Regions from separate parts of the Homo sapiens genome. Here all the other regions are linked to region 1. Evidence: promoter capture Hi-C in human tissues and cell types (Jung and others, 2019). All regions are on one chromosome and are shown on one strand. The core of a region is centred on a gene start or on the middle of the fragment in contact, and the rest is flanking DNA. Distances in the headings are between cores, read along the strand shown. Region 1 holds the start of OR1N1 (olfactory receptor family 1 subfamily N member 1). Region 2 has its middle 12 kb from the start of OR1J1. Region 3 has its middle 8.3 kb from the start of OR1N2.

Region 1 (4,230 bases), core at 1,684-4,183:
CATAGTTAAGTAATGTATGACTGTATATCAAAGGAGGAATAAGTTTGGAACTTTGAATACATTGATAACTCTTGGCTGGCTGGAATCGAGGAATGTTAGACTATTGAACAGTGATAGGCAACAGTGTCCGTTGATGAATCTTTGTATGCTGAGTGCTGACCTAACTCCTAACGGCCACAGAATTATATTAAGTAAACTGAAGTGGACACCCAGTCACATCTTCTAGTTTGCTTGGGGCCTGTGAGAAAGAACTTAAACCATACCCAAACAGGATTCATAAATTTACCGCACTATCAGTGAGTGGATTGAGGGTCCCTGAGGATCAGAATGGTGAATGAAACCAGAAGGCGACATAGACACCATGAGTAAAGAAGGTAAAGTTGATTGGGTGAATCTGAGCAGCAGATTTAGGGTATCAGGGTGGACATAGGTTTCAGATATAGTGTGAGGCTGTATCTGGTGATCTCACACCTCAGGCTTCCTCATGTCCACTAGCTGTGTCATCAGGGGCCTTAGAGCTCTCCTAGGAGACCCTCTTCTGAAAGAGCTGATCATGAGAAGTGGAGGATAGTCCATTGCCAGTTCAAATGATAGAAGAAAGCTAGAGGTCAATGGCTTGGAGGAGACTGTCAGTGGTCTTTGGTCAGTGGAGCGATAGATGTCAACAGAATGGAAGGAGAGTTGTAGACTAAGGAGATGAGGGCAGGAGAACTCCAAGTTTGCAACCATCTCCAGCTCTGGTTACATGACGATGCCCTGCTCATCCCATTCAAGGACTCTCTGAGGGAACATCTGGAAAGGAGTTCTAGAGAGAAGAACAGACTTCCAGTTCCAGGTCATGAAATAAATGGAATCCTCGCGTACTAAGATGTGGCATCTAAATGATTCACATTTGTACTTACTAATAGCTGAAGCCTGGAACAGTTTGATTCCATGAAAGATGCTCCATAAGTATTCATTGAAAAAGTGCAGCAATCATAAAACATTTTAGAATAGGTTAGGTCTGAGAAACAAACTTAAATGAGGAAGGAGTTTAGGTAGCCAGTGGACACCTGGTGATACCAGATGTAAGAAATCAAAACTATATAGCCCTTATATTTAAAATAATATTTTTAATATTTCTAAGATTCTTGGAGACAGATAGAATGCCATTTACCTTCAAACATCATTTTTTCCATCTCTGCAACTAATTTAAGCTGCTGGTGCCCCTTTTAGATGTGGACGCAAACCTGCAGTCAAATAAGGAGAGAGGATTTCCACGTTCCTCTCATCTAATAGTCACTAAAAGGATGGTGGCATTGCACGTTTCTGACCAGCATGGGGCAGAGGTAGCACAAGGAGCTTTAACCCCCTTCCTAGTGAAACATTAGCCAACCGTGGGGTGGGCAACCCGCATGGAAACCTAAACATTGAATTTGAACCTTTTGATGGGGATCTCTTTAGCTATTCTGCAGCACATGGAATGCAGCCTCCATCTTTATTTCTTTTGTCTTACTCCCCACTTAATGCCACAAACAAAACAAGTGCCCCCAAAATTTTAATGATCGACAAATTAATAACCTAGAATGAAAGTGTCATGAAAGCAGGGACTTTGTCTTGCTCAGTGTCATAACCCTAGCACTTACAATAACTTCCAACACACCATAGATAGTAAATATTTATTGAACAAATATATCTCAGAGAAAAGATTTTTTGACTTCTGAGTTGGGGGAGGAATGAAGAATACTAATAGTAATAATAATAGCTATCCCTTATTGAACACCTACTGTTATTCACTACTATACTGAATGCATTTCATAGTTTATTTCAGTTAATCCTCCAAGTTACATTATTAGATAGAAACTGTTATCTCCATTTTATAAATGAGAAAACCAAGGCTCAGAGAGGCTAAGTAACCAGACTACAATCTTATGGCTAGTGTGTGGTAGACCCCAAAATGAAGCCCGTTTGTCTGACTCCAAGCCTATGTCTTTTCATTAAATGTTGCTGTCACCACATCTAAGAGGAAACAATACTCCTGTGACTGAAGAGCCTCTTTAGGGCCCCCTTCATGTCCTTGTTCCTTAGGCTATAGATAAAGGGGTTCAACATGGGAGTCACTATGGTGTACATTGCAGCTGCTGCAATGTCCTTCTCTTCAGAGGCAATGGAGGGAGGACACAGGTAGGCACTGAAGAGGGTCCCATAGAACACACAAACAACGCAGAGGTGGGAACTGCAGGTGGAAAAGGCCTTGCCCACCCCACCACGGGTTCGGACCCTCAGGATAGCTGGCACAATGTGGATGTAGGAGGTGACAATGCATAAAAAGGGGACGATGAGTACGGTGCCTCCCAAGACAAAAACCATCATCTCGTTGATGTGGGTGTCAGAACATGACAGCTTCAGGACAGGAGTGATGTCACAGAAAAAGTGAGCAATTTCCCCAGTCACACAGAAGGACAACCGAGCCATGAGGAACGTGTGAGTCAGGGCAACGATATTGGTGAGGACCCAGCACAATGCAAGCATTAGGGCACAGACTTGGGGCCTCATGACTGTGGAGTAGCAGAGGGGGTGGCAAATGGCCACATAGCGGTCATACGCCATGGCAGCCAGGAAGAAGCTGTCTAGATCACCAAACATCAGAAAGAAATACATTTGCGTGAGGCAACCCGTATAGGAGATGGTGTGATGCCGAGTCTGTATATTCACCAGCATCTTGGTAACTGTGGAGGACGTTAAACCCATGTCAACAAAAGACAGGTTGGCCAAGAAAAAGTACATGGGGGTGTGGAGGTGCAGGTCAGAGCCAATGGCCAGGATGATGAGCAGGTTCCCAGTCAAGGTGACAAGATACATACACAGGAAAATTCCGAAGAGGGACTGCTGTTGCTCTGGAGGCGCTGATATTCCTCGGAGGAAAAATTCAGAAATGCTGGATTGGTTTTCCATGACTCTGCAGCATCTGGAGCTGAGGGAAGACAGTTAGAATGCTAGATTTCATCTACAACTGTGTGGGCTGACTCCCAAATCTCCCTTTAAGTTCATTATATTCCTAATCCTGACTTTATCTTCATTCTGATCCTGCTTCTTTTCTCTCTTCATCAGAGTCTCATTTTCCCCCTTTCTCCTCTCTTTACCACTATTTAATCTTTTACACATAGAGTCCCCTTCCAATAAGGTCAGGGCATATTCTCCCTTGGCATGACCATGCCTTAGACTAGTCTATAGCCTCATGTTAGTTTCATTTTTGCAGTAGGCTGTCTATGTGAGTAGACTGAGGTCAGCTAAATTTTACATTCTTTTGGGAGGTAGCCAAAAAACCCACACAAAATTCTTAATTTTGACACATCCTCATTCATTTTAGAGTGAAGGGCATATGAAGGACTCATGCCTCTTTATTTTTTCATTATTTCTTTTGAAAAAGAAAATACGAAGTCCTGCATTTCTCCCTGCATTTGAGTTTTTGTCATTGGCATCATCATCATCCTGTAGCTAACGCATATTACATGTTAGCCACATATATGACAGGTACTCTACTAAGTACTTTATGAAGATTGTTTCCTTTAATCCTTAAACAACACTAGGATGCAGAGATTGTTATTCTTACCCTTATATAAGAAAACTGAGTCTAAGGATGTTTAAGTAAATTGTACAAGGACCCAGAGCTCATAAATATTTGAGACAGAATTCAAACCCACAGCAATGGTTTCCAGAGACTGTACCATCAGTCAATATAGATAGAAAGTAACTTTCTAGGACCACATTTATATTTAATCCCTCAGTATTCTTAGTTTAACGTATTTAGTCTCACTTGCCTTTACTATCTTTTATATGTGTGTTTTACAGAAGAACAACGAAATTTAAGAACTAGATAGAACCTGAAAGATCACCTGGCCCAGAGGTCTCAAGCATTGGTCTGTAGACCAGTTTATCATAATCAAGTGAGATGCTTATTTAAAATCCTGATCCCGGCTGGGCACAGTGGCTCATGCCTGTAATCCCAGCACTTTGGGAGACCGAGGCAGGCGGATCTACCTGAGGTCAGTAGTTCAAGACCAGCCTGACCAACATGACAAAACCCCATCTCTATTAAAAATACAAAAATTAGCCGGGTGTGGTGGCATGTGCCTGTAATCCCAGCTACTTGGTAGGCTGAGGCCGGAGAAGCACTTGAGCCTGGGAGTTGGAGGTTGCAGTGAGCCGAGATCATGCCATTGCACTCCAGCCTGGGCAATAGAGCAAGAC
Region 2 (4,300 bases), core at 1,801-4,300, 37 kb before region 1:
AAAAATTATATAAACCACCTGGCACATGTGTACTCATCTGCAAGATTTTGGAGGAGATGATTAACACACACACACACACACACACACACACACACAAACTGCTTAATGGAGTCTGTAAGCATTGGTCTTACCTAGTTCAGTGATAAATTCAAATATTGTCAGCTCCTTGGTATGAACCAATCATTCATTTTCTCTCCAAAAGTCTTAGAGCTGGAACAGTGAGAAAAGTCATGAGCTCAACCCTGAAGTGGAGAAGAGGCACATTCTTTGTTTTTCACCAGCCACAAGGCTACAGCAAGAGTATCTCCCTTTACCTGCCTGGATGGGAACCCAGGGGACTGGTGCCAGAAGTCTGTGGTGAGACACAGTTAGGGGCTAATTACTGTATTTCCCTTAATATTCCCAGTTGAAATGTGCCTTTGCCGGACACCAAGGACAGTCAACTCCTATGGGAATATAAATAAGAACTTTTATTATGTACAGATTTTTTTTATTTATAAAGAACTTTCACATCTATAAGATTTTTTAAGCATCACAATAATATTTGATGTAGATAGTATTTTTCCCATTTATTGAGTTTGACAATGTCTCAAAAGTAAATGGTTAAATGAGTATTCAAACATAAACACATTAACTTCAAACCTAAAGCCTGGTTTCATTCTAGGCTTTCTTCCATGTTGCCTCCCTTATATTAGTGAGCTCTATATTTTAAATAATTCTTTTGGGTTTTTTGTTTGTTTGTTTTGTTTTTGTTTTATTTTTGTTTTGAGACAGTTCTGTTGCCCAGGCTGGAGTGCAGTGGCATGATCTCAGCTCACTGCAACCTCTGCCTCCTGGGTTCAAGTGATTCTCATGCCTCAGCCTCCCAAGTAACTGGAATTACAGGTGTGTGCCACCACGTCCAGCTAATTTTTTGTATTTTTAGTAGAAATGGGGTTTTGCCATGTTGCCCAGGGTGGTCTCAAACTCCTGAGCTCAGGTGATCTGCCCGCCTCAGCCTCCCAGAGTGCCTGGATTATAGGCGTGAGCCACCGCTCCTGGCCTATACAGACTTCCTCCTTCCCACATTCAATTTGGAACTGGAAGGAGAGGTGTTACTAGTCCCTGAGGATTAAGAACACTTTTCAAGGACTAGAGATTTATTTTCCTCATGGGAAACACCTGAATACATGCAGGATTTATTTTTGGTTAGTGATGACACATAATAATAGTTGGAACAGACTCAGGGCTCAAAAAGTATTCTTTGACCATAAAAATGAGTGTGAGAATCTTCAGAAACCTGCTACATTCAGGTTGGCAAAAATATAAAAGAGACGGAGAATTAAGTGGAGGAGATTGCTTTTTTCATTATTTCTTTGAATAATTTGTGCATTCATTTACTCATTCAGAAGAATATTGTATAAATATGATGTGGCAAGAATTTTGTGAGGCACTGTAAGTAAAGAAAACACAAGTTTCTTTTTTTAAAATTTATTATACTCTAAGTTCTGGGGTACATGTGCAGAATGTGCAGGTTTGTTATATAGGTATACACATGTCATGGTGGTTTGCTGCACCCATTACCCATCGTCTACATTAGGTATTTCTCTTAATGCTATCCCTCCCCTAACCCCCCCACCCATTGACAGGCCCTGGTGTGTGATGTTCCCATCTCTGTGTCCATGGGAAAACACAATTTTCTGTCCCCAAAGAGTTCCCAATCCATTGAATGAGATCGACAAAACCGTCCACATCAGACACTGTAATGAAGGTAAGAGCCGAGTGCTGTGGGAACACAAAGGGGGGCATCAAACCCAAATTAAAGGCATCAAGCAAGTGTTCTGTGTGGGAAACTTATGAGGGGAGAAGAAAAGACACACACACCATTCCTTTATTCCATATATAAATATATATATATATATTTACACTCGCCAGACTACGGAGGATTCACCACCAGACTGGAAAGCAACAGCCTGGGTTCCAGAGTCAGATACAAAACTCACCAGACTGTGGAGGATTCACCACCAGACTGGGAAGAAACAGCCTGGGCTCCAGAGTCGGCCACTTGTCCGTGCACAGACAAGGAGAGGTTTCATGAAGCTTCGGTGCTAGGGTCTGGGACCCTAGCTCTTTTTGTAAGAAGTTGTTTTGCATGAGGCCCAGTGACGAGGGCCCTTTGCGACTGGGCTCAAGGAACACAAAAAGATCAACTTGTTTTTGCAATTATCTATTGTTTTTCAATAACCAATGTATAGGAATAGATTGAAATAGAGATTTCTCCGAAACAGTGCTGGATGAATGCCTCAAGGGGCTCACACAACCTGTTCCCGGACTTGGTGACCATTGTTTGTGTCCACGTTCAATTGAGTTCAAATTTAATATTTAACTTTTTCTCCACATTGGGCCTCAATTTGATACTCAGTTGTAGGAAAATACCCTTACAGATACATGGGGAAGGCACAGTTGATAGATTACAGATACATGGTAAGCACAGGAGAATTAAAAACGCAATTAATAAAAACCACACCTACGATAGCTTTGCAAGGAGAGTAATATTGTGAGAATTGTCAGGGATAGACACATAACATTTAGTATGCAGTAAGGCACAAACCCCTCCTTGGGCTGTGGTAAGCATATCTAATGCCTCTCGATTTTGCAACACAACAGTGCACGGCTGAGCAAATTCATCTGATAACATAAGTCCAGTGCTACTATCATTAAGAGCTTTTTCTACATGTAAGCTTAATATTTTAATTTGTTGCTGAAGCAGGATTGTACTGGTGGCAGGGGAGAATACTGTGATAGGGTACCATCATCAGGGAGTCTGGCACATTCATAACCAGTGATGTTTGTAAGCATCTAGATTACTGGGGAGGGAATATTATCCCAGATGGTGAATGGAATTAATGGCCATCCCCAAATGCATCTCCCCATCCAATGTGGGGTGGTGAGTGTAAATATATATATATCTCTTTTCCTTTATCCCCTTCCCATTGCAACTTGCTTATTATATCAATTTGCTTATTATATCATTGGCTTGTTATATCTGCATTGCCATTTACGTGGGATAAAGCTTGTTTACCCTTAAAGGTATTTTGTGTGTGTCTTTTCTTCTCCCCTCATGCGTTTCCCACACAGAACAGCAAGTAGGCTTGTAGAAAGTTACAAGTAAGCAGAAACTCAAGAAAATCAAAACAAGTAGAAGGTGATGTCAACAACATAGAGGCAGAGCAGTGAAAGGGAGAGAAACAGAGGAATAGGAAAAGACCTACAGAAGAGAAAGGATGGCAAATTTAGGAAACAATTGTCAGAAAAATTAGAGTGGCTAAAATGTACACTTGAACAGGGGAAGAGGTTCAGGATGAGTCCAGAGAAACTAGAAGGAATAAATCATGCAGGACCTTAGAAGCCATATTGAAGAATTTGCATATTACTCAAAAGGAAAGAAAGAGCCATGGAAGGACTTGATCAGCAGATTGACAATCATACTAAACACAGTTGGTATAGTTCAGGAGTGGATAATGAGCATGTGTTTGCAGTGGGCAGAGGACATGTTGGCAGAGCAGGCATGGGGTAGTGGAATGCAAGACCAGAAGCAAAGAGACTCATTAGGAGAAGATGACAGTCATTTAGGTAAGAGATTATGAAAGTGTGTATAAGAGAGTGACCATGATGTTAGAACTATATTGATTTAAGTCTCCGTAGTCAGAATCTAATGGATATAGTAATTTTGATGTGAGTTGATTTTGATAAGAATGTAGAAAATAAGGAGAACAAAGGAGTTGAAAACCTCTCTAAATTTATGGCTTGGACAGCTGAGTGTATGGTTGTGCTATTCACTGAAGGCAATATAGAAGAAAAAGATTTGAGAAGTTGTATTGCATAGAGTATGAGGTACCTATAGGTCATCCATGAGACAAATTTAGTAGGCAGGTGGATATATTTTGGATAGAGATAGAAATTCATGGACTGTCAACATAGAGGAGGATGAGATTGCCTGAAAACAAATGAGGTTAGTAAAAGCTGAGGAAAAAGAAGAAGGAGGGGAGAGAAAGGGAGGAGAGAAGAGGAAAGGAGAAGGGAGAAAAGCAAGGAAAGGGAAGGGAATAGTTGCTGAGGACAGACCACAGGGAACATTGACAATTAAGATAGTAGCAGAGAAATAAAGCCCCCAAAAGACATCAAATAACAACCAGAGATGGAGAAGGAGAATATAAAAATGTAGAGCCAAGGTTAAGTGCTGAAACCATTCATTGGATTTAGTAATAATGAGGATTTCGGTGACATGACTAGGAGCAATGCAAATAAAAGGTGGGAATGG
Region 3 (4,293 bases), core at 1,187-3,686, 34 kb after region 1:
TATGTAATATTTATTTTTATTTTTTTTTATTTTACTTTAAGTTCTAGGATACATGTGCAGAATGTGCAGGTTTGTTACACAGGTATATGTGTGCCATAGTGGTTTGTTGCAACTATCAACTGGTCATCTAGAGTGTCAATTTTAGATCTTTCCTGCTTTCTCTTGTGGGCATTTAGTGCTATAAATTTCCCTCTTAACACTGCTTTAGCTGTGTCCCAGAGATTCTGGTACGTTGTCTCTTTGTTTTAATTGAATACAAAGAACTTCTTGATTTCTGCCTTAATTGCATTATTTACCCAGTAGTCATTCAGGAGTAGGTTGTTCAGTTTCCATGTAGTTGTGTGTTTTTGAATGTTTTTTAATCTTGAGTTCTAATTTGATTTCACTGTGGTCTGAGAGACTGTTTGTTATTTTTCAGTTCTTTTGCATTTGCTGGGGAGTTTTTTGCTTCCAGTGATGTGGTCAATTTTAGAATAAGTGCCATGTGGCACTGAGAAGAATGTATATTCTGTTGATTTGGGGTGGAGAGTTCTGAGTTCTGTCGACGTTTATTAGGTCTACTTGATCCAGAGCTGAGTTCAAGTCCTGAATATCCTTGTTAATTTTCTGTCTCATTGATCAGTCTAATATTGACAGTGGGGTGTTAAAGTCTCCCACTATTATTGTGTAGGTGTCTAAGTCTCTTTGTAGGTCTCTAAGAACTTGCTTTATGAGTCTGGTGCTCCTGTATTGGGTGCAAATATATTTAAGATAGTTAGCTCTTCCTGTTGCATTGTTCCTTTTACCATTATATAATGCCCTTGTTTGTCTTTTTTTATTTTTGTTGGTTTAAAATCTGTTTTGTCAGAGACTAGGATCACAACCCCTCTTTTTTTTTGCTTTCCATTTGCTTGGTAAATTTTCTCCTGTCCTTTTATTTTGAGCCTATTTGTTTCTTTGCACGTGAGATGGATCTCCTGAATATAGCACACCAATAGGTCTTGACTCTTTATCCAGTTTGCCAGTCTGTGTCTTTTAATCGCAGCATTTAGCCCGTTTACATTTAAGGTTAATATTGCTATGTGTGAATTTGATCCTGTCATCATGATGCTAGCTGGTTATTTTGCACACTAATTGATGCAATTTCTTCATAGTATCGTTGGTCTTTATATTTTGGTGTTTTTGCAGTGGCTGGTACCGGTGTTTCCTTTCCATATTTAGTGCTTCCTTCAGGAGCTCTTGCAAGGCAGGCCTGGTGGTGACAAAATCCCTCAGCATTTGTTTGTCTGGAAAGGATTTTATTTCTCATTTACTTATGAAGCTTAGTTTGGCTGGATATGAAATTCTGCGTTGAAAATTCTTCTCTTTAAGAATGTTGAATATTGACCCCCACTCTCTTCTGGCATGTAGGGTTTCTGCTGAGAGATCCTCTCTTAGTCTGATGGGTTTCCCTTTGTAGGTGACCAAGCCTTTCTGTCTGGCTGCCCTTAACATTTTTTCCTTCATTTCGACCTTGGAGAATTTGATGATTATGTGTCTTGGGGTTGATCTTCTCATGGAGTATCTTAGTGGAGTTCTCTGTATTTCCTGAATTTGAATGTTGGTCTGTCTTGCTAGGTTGGGGAATTCTCCTAGATAATATCCTGAAGTGTGTTTTCCATCTTGGTTCCATTCTTCCCATCTCTTTCAGGTACTCCAATCAATCATAGGTTCTGCCTTTTTACATAGTCCCATATTTCTCAGAGGTTTTGCTCATCCCTTTTCATTCTTTTTCCTTTAATCTTGTCTGCCTGCCTTATTTCAGCATGATGGTCTTCAAACTCTGATATTCTTTCTTCTGTTTGATCGATTTAGCTATTGATACTTGCGTATGCTTCATGAAGTTCTTGTGCTGTGTTTTTCAGCTCCATCACATCATTTATGTTCCATTCCATCATTTATGTTCCTGATTGTTCTAGTTAGCAGCTCATGTAAGCCTTTATCAAGGTCCTTAGCTTCTTTGCATTGGGTTAGAACATGCCCCTTTAGCTCAGCAGAGTTTGTTATTACCCACCTTCTGAAGCCTGCCTCTGTCAGTTCATCTATTTCATCCTCCATCCAGTTCACGCCCTTGCTGGAGAGGTGTTGTGATCATTTGGAGGAGAAAAGGCACTCTGGCCTTTTGGATTTTCAGCGTTTTTTCGTTGATTCTTTCTCATCTTCATGAGTTTGTCTAGTTTCCATCTTTGAGGCTGCTGACCCTTGGATGAGGTTTTTGTGGGGACGTTTTTTGTTCATGCTGTTGTTGTTTTCTGTTTGTTTTTCTTTCAGTGGTCAGGTCCCTCTTCTGTAGGGCTGCTGTGGTTTGCTGGGGGTTCATTTCAGGCCTTATTCATCTGGTTCACTCCTGCACCTGGAGATGTCACTGGGGGAAGCTGGAGAACAGTAAAGATGGGTGCCTGCTCCTTCCATTGGTATCGCTGACCTTGAGGGGCACCGACCTAATGCCAGCAGGAATGCTTCTGTATAAAATGTCTGACAACCCCTGTTGCAGGGTCTCACCCAGTTGGTGGCACTGGGAGCAGGACCCATTTAATGAAGCACTTTGGCTGTCCCTTGGTGGAGGGGGTATGCTGTGCTGGAGGGAAACTTACTCATCTGGGCTGCCCAGATTCCTCAGAACTAGCAGTAGGAAAAACTAAGTCTGCTGGTCCGTGGAGACTATGGCCACCCCTTCTACTAGGGGCTCAGGCCCAGGGAGATGAGAGTTCTGTCCTTGAGCCCCTGGCGGGAGTTGTTGGAGTTCCTGCAGGGAGGCCCTCCCAGTGAGGAGGGATGGGTCAGGGTCTTGCCTGAAGAGGCACTCTGGCTGCAGTCTGCCACAGCCGGTGTGTTTGGCTGTGGGGAATATTTCTTGCCACCAAGTCTCCCTGGCTCGGCAGGGGAAAATAGTGACCTGGAGCTATAGAGATGGCTGCCGCCCTTCCCCCGCCATGGGAGCTTAGTGTGTTAGGCAGCTAGCAGTCCCAGTGTTGGCTGCTGCCCCTCCCGCAGGGAGCTTAGACAGCTTAGGCAGCAGGCAGTTGCAGCTGTGGTGATGGCTGCAACTCCTCCCAGGAAGTCAGCAGGCTTAAGCAGATTCTAGCTGAGTGGCTATTGAGAATCTGCGTAGCTCTGTTGTTGGGACCCTAGGCCCTGGTGGCAGGGGCTCTCAAGTGGGATCTTCTGATCTGTGGGTTGCACAGTTCTGTGGAAAAAGCATGGTTTCCCAGGCTGGGTAGCACGCTCACTCACCACCTCCCTTGGCTGGTGGGTGGGGACTCCCCTGCCCTGTGTGGCTCTCAGGTGGGCTGCCACACCACACTGCACTTCCTTCCTCTCCGTGTGTCATACCAACTGCCTAGTCAGTCCTGGTGACAGCACCTGGATACCTTGGTTGCCGTTGCAGGGTTCGCATGCTGTTTTGGTTGTTTTCTGAATTCAACTTTTTAAAAATCCCACAAATAAGTGAGAATATGGGTATTGGTCCTTCTGTGCCTAGCTTATTTTATTTAACATAATGTCGACTAGGTTCATCCATGCTGCCACAAAAGAATAAAAATGATTTTATTCGTTTTATGGCTGCATGGTGTTCCATTGTGCACATATAGCACTTAAAAAAATCCGTGTATCCACTGATGGACATTTTGGTTGATTCCATATCTTGGCTGTTGTAAATAGTGCTGTAATAAACTTGAGGGTGCAGATGACTCTTTGACGTACTTATTTCTTTTCCTTTGGATATATAACCAGTAGTGGGACTACTGGATCATATGGTAGATATATTTTAATTTTTTGAGGAATCTTGACACTGTTGACCATAATGGATGTACTAATTTATATTCTCACCAACAGTGTATAAGTGCTCCCCTTTCTCCACATCCTCACTAGCATTTGTTATTTTTTTTTTTGTCTCTTTGATAATAGCCATTCTAACTGGGATGAGGTGATATCTCATTGTGTTTTTAAAAAGTTTGTTTTTATTTTTAAATTTTATGGATACATCATAGTATAGTTAACAATAATTTATTGTATATTTCATTGTGATTTTGATTTGCATTTCCCTAATGATTAGTGATACTGAGCATTTTTCCATAAGCTTGTTGACCATATAGATGTCTTCTTTTAAGAAATATCTATTTAGGTCTTTTCTCCATTTTTAAAATCATTTATTTGTTTTTTTGTTGTTATCGAGACATTTGAGTTTCTTATATATTCCACATATTAACCTCTTGACAGATGCATAGTTTGCAAATATTTTCTCCCATCCTGTAGGTTGTCTCTTTGCTCTGTTGA

What was found. Contacts are between HindIII fragments. The study calls those that stand out against the background at their distance.
Region 2: a contact is called between a fragment that was not itself captured here and the fragment with the promoter of OR1N1 in region 1, in 4 of the 25 tissues and cell types used here (H1 embryonic stem cells, mesenchymal stem cells, neural progenitor cells and 1 more).
Region 3: a fragment that was not itself captured here is called in contact with the fragment with the promoter of OR1N1 in region 1 in 5 of the 25 tissues and cell types used here (heart right ventricle, mesendoderm cells, neural progenitor cells and 2 more).

The regions. Positions count from the first base shown.
Region 1 is chr9:122,524,360-122,528,589 of GRCh38, forward strand. It overlaps OR1N1 (olfactory receptor family 1 subfamily N member 1), which reads right to left and starts at 2,934. Exons shown (of 1, transcript NM_012363.1): 1 at 1,999-2,934. The coding sequence starts at 2,934. The coding sequence ends at 1,999. It also overlaps a transcript of OR1J2 not described here. The HindIII fragment of the contact is 9,333 bases long and covers 1-4,230 here.
Region 2 is chr9:122,487,396-122,491,695 of GRCh38, forward strand. It overlaps a transcript of OR1J2 not described here. Among named protein-coding and RNA genes, the nearest start is that of OR1J1, 12 kb to the left of the region's middle. The HindIII fragment of the contact is 4,254 bases long and covers 924-4,300 here.
Region 3 is chr9:122,559,288-122,563,580 of GRCh38, forward strand. It overlaps a transcript of OR1J2 not described here and a transcript of OR1L8 not described here. Among named protein-coding and RNA genes, the nearest start is that of OR1N2, 8.3 kb to the left of the region's middle. The HindIII fragment of the contact is 4,575 bases long and covers 150-4,293 here.